Regions from separate parts of the Homo sapiens genome. Here region 2 is linked to region 1. The links are contacts of gene promoters, found by promoter capture Hi-C in human tissues and cell types (Jung and others, 2019). All regions are on one chromosome and are shown on one strand. The core of a region is centred on a gene start or on the middle of the fragment in contact, and the rest is flanking DNA. Distances in the headings are between cores, read along the strand shown.

Evidence for each region. The method cuts DNA at HindIII sites, captures the fragments that hold promoters and counts their contacts. A contact is called where the count stands out against the background at its distance.
Region 2: a contact is called between a fragment that was not itself captured here and the fragment with the promoter of FSIP1 in region 1, in 1 of the 25 tissues and cell types used here (IMR-90 fibroblasts).

Annotation. Positions count from the first base shown.
Region 1 is chr15:39,781,380-39,784,454 of GRCh38, forward strand. It overlaps FSIP1 (fibrous sheath interacting protein 1), which reads right to left and starts at 1,462. Exons shown (of 12, transcript NM_152597.5): 1 at 1,249-1,462. LOC105370941 (a long non-coding RNA gene) reads left to right here and starts at 1,527. Exons shown (of 1, transcript NR_135665.1): 1 at 1,527-3,075. RefSeq lists a silencer at 1,092-1,271 and an enhancer at 1,572-1,701. The HindIII fragment of the contact is 15,521 bases long and covers 1-3,075 here.
Region 2 is chr15:39,994,938-39,998,012 of GRCh38, forward strand. EIF2AK4 (eukaryotic translation initiation factor 2 alpha kinase 4) reads left to right here. Exons shown (of 39, transcript NM_001013703.4): 19 at 2,027-2,128. Among named protein-coding and RNA genes, the nearest start is that of SRP14, 43 kb to the right of the region's middle. The HindIII fragment of the contact is 8,851 bases long and covers 1-3,075 here.

The sequences.
Region 1 (3,075 bases), core at 212-2,711:
AATCATCACTTTTCAAAACTGCTTAGCAGTTTCTTATAAAGTTAAACATATATTTACCATATGACTCCACAATCTCATTCATATTTACCCAAGAAATGAAAACATATTCACACACACAAAAAAAAACCTGTACATGAATATTTATACCAGCTTCATCAATAATAGCCAACAACTGGAAAGAACTCATCCAAATATGCCTCAAGTAGGAAATGGATAAATATACTACCGTAGATCCATACAATGGACTATTACTCAGCAACATAAAGGAACAACTGATACACAGAACATGAATGAATAGCAACTGCATGATGCTAAGCTGAAAGAAGCCTGATTCAAAAGGCCACAGGGTGTTTGCTTCCATCAATATGACATTCTGGAATAGGCAAAATTACAGGAACAAAAAACTAGGAAGTTGTTGCCAGGGATGGCGTTAGGGGAGGGATTAAATACAAAGAGCACTAGGGAATTTGGGGTTCATGATGAAACTTCCGTATGCTGATTGTGGTGGTTGGTAATTACATAACTGTATACATTTGTCAAAACTCACAGAACTGTAGATTAAATGGGTGAGGCTTACCATAAGTAAGTTATACCTCAATTTTAAGTTAATATATTTGTGCCAATCTTTCTTTAGTTATGCTCATACATCCATAAAATATATTAGAATTGCTGAGTCAAAGAACACTTATGTTTCAAATTTTGGTAGTTCGCCAAATTGTACTCCAAAAAGGCTGCACCAAATTACACTACTTCCCCTACACTGGGCTGGGGCCCATCTGGTTATGTCAAAGCTGTTTCATCTTCTCCAGTCTCATAGGTGTAAAAGGTATCTGTGAATTTGGTTTACATTTCTTCACGAGAAAAGTTGAGTCTCTAATCAATTGTTTGCTGTTTGCATCTTTTTATTTTTCCTGTGAAATGCCTATTTGCATCCTTTGCCGTTTACGGTCTAGTTTAAATGGCTGGTGATCAGTTCTAGATCTTGGTGGGAAGATCCAAATCTCGGGAAAGTAGAAGCCTTGGTTACAGGTCCTAATGTTAGGTGATTCCTGGAGAAATAGCCTCCGCGGAGGCAGAAGCCGCTGGGGCCCCGCCCCCAATGAGCCCGCCCCCGCCCTCTCATTGGCCCTGTCCGCTCTCCCTGACAGTCCATCTACATGCCAAGCGGCCCGACGCAGCTCCGCCCCGCCCACTCCTCGGCGCACCGCCCCGCGACCGAGCTCCGCCCTCATCTGCGCGGCCCCTCACCTTCCCGCCGGGCCTCCTCGAGGAACTGGCCGCCGTCAGTCAGGGCGCAGATGGCCGCAGAAGCGCGCCGCAGACACTCGCCGCGCCAGCCACTTACCCCCAGAGGAGAGGGGTCTCTCCCGCCACCTCAGCCTCTCTGGTAGTGGAAGAAGCCGCCGGTCCAGATCCCTCCTGCCTGTGGGACCGCTGTTTCCCTGGCAACCAGATGCGCGATGCTTCCGGTCTCGCGATAGCGGAAAGGGCTGTACCATCCGGAAATGGGACCGGGGCCGGCGGCTGTTGGAGCCCTGCGAGCTGGGACGGCCGGCGTGTGTCCTTCCGTCTTCGCTGCCGACGGTGGGGGTTGGGAGCGATTTTTCGTCTTTAGGTTGGATTCGGAACGCGGACGTCTGGATGCTTGTGTATCTCTGTCCCTCATATTGCTGTGATGCCTTACAGGTCAGTTATCCTCTCCGAGCACAGTTTCCTCCTCCGTAAAATGGGAACAATAATAATTCCCTTCTTACAAGACTTGTGCAGCTCAAAAAGACCATGTATGTGAAGCTCTAGTAAATTTGGGGTGCTATGGAAATTTTAAAAATATGAGTTTTGCACAGATTCGGCTACAGTCCAAAAAGAGTTATAATTGCTTTTTGCACCTTCTTTCATTTCGTAGTTTCTCTAATTCTCAGTGCACGAAAATTATTTCCCTACGTCCACAAACTGATTTTCCTCACCTCCATTGCCATCATTTCTCCTGCTTTCCAGTCTGAACAGCACATTACCGTTTACAGGGCATTTTCACATTCATGGCCCCTTTGTCCTCATTGTTTTAACTAGGTACGATGTGGTTTTTTTTCAGCGAAGCAAATAGTCGTAGGCTGAGTTGCCGAAAGAACACAGCTGCAGTCTAGGCGAGTGCTGGGTATAAAAACCTGGCTATAAATGCCATCCCTATGCTCCTGAATCCTGCATCTTATCACCAGCCCAGACTTCCCTGAACTCCAGACTCCTTTACCTAACTGCCTATTTGGCATATCCACTTAGATGTGTAAGCATCTCAAACTTAACACGGGAAAAAACAACTTCTCCAGAGTCCCCCACCCACTTTCTATCCATCTCAGCAAATGGTAATTTCAGCCTGCCATGCCTAGACCAAAAACCTTGGAGTCATCCTCAATTCTTCTTCCTCTCTCACTCTACAATCTATTTGTCCTATCAGCTCAACATTCAAAATATATTCAGAATCCAAACATTCGTCACAACTTCAGTGCTTCCATTCAGGTTCATACTGACATCATCTCTAAATGATAAGGCTTTCTGTTGGCTCTCTGACCTCCACTCCTACCTACTGCTTTCCCCTGGTAAACCTGGTTCCAGCCTCACTGTCCTCATTGTTAGTGTTTCTGTGCAGGGATTTCTTCCCAGCATTTCTCAGGGAATTTATGTGGCTTTCCAAATCTCAAAAGAAAAAAAGTTGCAAACTGAAGAAAATGGGAGAAAGTATCCTAATCCTCCTATGAGAATTAAAACTTAGCAGCCGACCTAGAGATGTTACTGAAGAAATTCACCAATGTCAAGTTGAAAACCAGCACAGGAAATGCTGAGTTCGAGGTTGAGGTGAACATTTTCAGGAACCAGGTCAGGAGCACTTGGGAGAGACATGGCCACAATCTCATCAGTCAGTCTTGTTTGTAGTTGGTGCCATGAAAGCCTATGTTCCTGGCCCTGTGTGCCGCTGGCAGTGAGTCATTCTTGCAAATAAAATATAAATAGGTTGATACTCATTGTATACTTTATACAAATTCTATGAGCAGTGTTCAAAAAAGTAACGGGTTTTGGATTCAA
Region 2 (3,075 bases), core at 404-2,903, 210 kb after region 1:
TTCAAGCAATTCTCCTGCCTCAGACTCCCGAGTAGCTGGGATTACAGACGCCTGCCACCATGCCTGGCTAATTTTTGTATTTTTAGTAGAGACAGGGTTTCACCATGTTGGCCAGGCTGGTCTCAAACTCCTGACCTCAGATGATCCACTTGCCTCAGCCTCCCAAAGTGCTGGGATTACAGGCATGAGCCACTGCACCTGGCCGTATATACATATTTTTTTAAAAAACCAAAGTGGGGGCATCTTAGACATCAGTAATAAATATCCCTGAGTGGTGGGATCATGAGATTGCTATTTTATTCTTGGTGCTTTTGTTCTATGTTTTCTATAGCCAACACGTATAGGAAATGCCACAGTGAATGTTTTTAAGATGTCGGAGGTCACCAGTGACAATCCAAGAGTCTCGCCGCCCCCTCTTTGAGTCCAAATGTATTCAAGAGTATTGCTTGAAAATGTTTTCCATTGTCCTGAAAGCGGCTCTACACCCTGCACCTCTGTGCCCCTGACCATGTGCAGTCTTTTCCTCGGCAGCTGTGTCATGCTCGGTTTCCTCAGATGCACTCCCTTCCCAACGCCATCTTCTCCTTCGTGGCACCCTACTTAGATTTTCTCTGCACTGACTTGCCTTTTTGCTTCTTTTTTCTTTTTATTGTAGATACTTTTTTTGTTTTTGTCAATTATTTAATAGTTATCTTGATTATTTATATCCTTCTAGTTTTTTGACTTTAGTGTTTTTTTCTGTAGCTTTTTATTTTTATTTATTTTTTATTTTTTTCCTAGCTTATGGAGGTATGATTGATGAAACTTGTCTATATTTAGGGTGTACAATGTGATGTTTTGATATATGTTTACATTGTGAAATGATTACCACAGCGAAGCTGACCGACATACCCATCACCTCACCTGGTTTCCATTTTTTGTGTATGGTAAGAACGCTTGAGAGCTACTTTCTTAGCAAACCTCAAGAATACAATGCGTTATTATTAATTATAGTCACCATGCCGTGCTTTAGATCTCCAGAATGTATTCATTTTATAACTGAAAATGCGTGCCCTTTGACCAGCACCTCCCCTTGACCCCCAGTCCCCAGCCCCTGGTAGCCATCATTCTGTTCTCTGTTACTGTGGGTTTGACTTTTATTTAGATTCTACATACCAGTGAGATCATGTAGTATTTGCCTTTCTGTGTCTAGCTTATTTCACCTAACATAATGTCCTGCAGGTTCATCTATGTTGTCACAAATGGCAAGATTCTCTTCTTTTTGAAGGCCATATGACCCTGTAGTCAGGAGCTGGCCTTTTCTATCAGCCGCAGATTTTGGTCTGTGTTTCACTTTTAAGATGGTTAGCTAAGATGTGAAACAAAGCAAATTCTTATGATCAATCTCAGTTGTCCTTGCTCTTCAGCCATTATTTCCAGTTTTCAGCCAGTGGTTTTCTATGTCTGTGGATACAACTAAACCAGTTACCATTAATTTTCTAGGAAGGCCAGGCGTGTTGGCTCATGCCTGTAATCCCAGCACTTTAGGAGGCCAAGGTGGGTGAATCACTTGAGTCCAGGAGTTGGAGACCAGCCTGGGCAACATGGCAAAACCCACTCTGTACAAAAAATACACACAAAAAAATTAGCTGGGCATGGTGGTGCACACCTGTAGTCCCAGCTACTTGGGAGGCTGAGGTGGAAGGATTGCTTGAGCCCAGGAGGCAGAGGTTGCAGTGAGCCGAGACTGCACCACTGCACTTCAGCCTGGGTGACAGAGTGAGACTCTGCCTCAAAAAAGAAAAAAAATTTCTAGGAAAATGTTTAAAGACATCATGCCAAATATTTTATCATCATCTGAATACAAAATATATCATTTAGCCTTTATAACCATAATTTTTAAGAACAAATCTTCGCATTTTTCCAGTGTGACCTGTTTTGTACTCCTACAAACTTTATTTCAGCTAACAATGCTTATCCTATAATTCCCTGGTAAATTATACTTTCATATCAAGGCTCTCTAAATGCAATTATTCTTCCCCCTCAGAAAGTGGATCTCTTCAGCCTGGGAATTATCTTCTTTGAGATGTCCTATCACCCCATGGTCACGGCTTCAGAAAGGATCTTTGTTCTCAACCAACTCAGAGATGTATGTATCAGGTGTTTTAGTGCCTACATTTTCAGTAACCGGAATCTTAGCACAGAGATCAGAATTCAAAGCAGGATATTTTTCTGGTATTTATAATATAGAAGAGGCTGCCCTACTGTAATTTTAATGACTCATTTATTCAGATATGCAAGACTAACCAGTTTTCCCATTTTTAGTGAAACATTTTTCTGAGCAAAGGAAGTCACCTCAGTTAAATTCTTAAAATAGCAGTTTTGGGAGCCAAAGATCATCAGCATGTAGGAGGGATCTTACTGGTCTCTCCACTATGTTTCCACAGTGAGGTAAATGGAACCCTACCTCTGATGATGGGAAACTTGCCCCAGTTTTGTTTGTTTTTGGAAATCTTACCTGGAGAAATTGCTAGGTTATAGTTGCTTTTTAAAAAATTATTCTGAGATTTACTCTTGATTTTAAAGCAAAGGAAGAAGCCACAAAATTGGGCTTGATATGAATATGGTTATAACAAGGGAGTAGATTGTAAAGAAATGGGTATTTAGTTCTAGAAGTTAAAGATGCCTGTTGAATGGGCCAGTTGTAGTAACGTCTAAAGAAAACTACCAAGACCAGAAGTTAAAACGGGTCCGAAAAAAATATCTGCCCCTTGAAATGTTTTTCCCAATGAAATTTCCATTTGTGTTCTTGGGATTAATCCTTGCCTCATTTACTGCCTGAGCTAAAAAGGGACCAGTGTTACATGTGCGAGGTCAGAGATGCCCATGAGCAAACCGCATTAAGATGAAAGTGAAGAGTGAGGTTTGGGTGAGAGTGATTTAAATTCACATATTTATGAGCGAGACATCTGGAGAGCCACCTTCTTTCTTACTGAGCAGAGTGAAGCAGGAATATTTATTAAGTTAATTCATAAACACGATAACTAGAATGCAGTAAGAATACTCCTGTATTCCACTATAAGAACACTTCTCTGG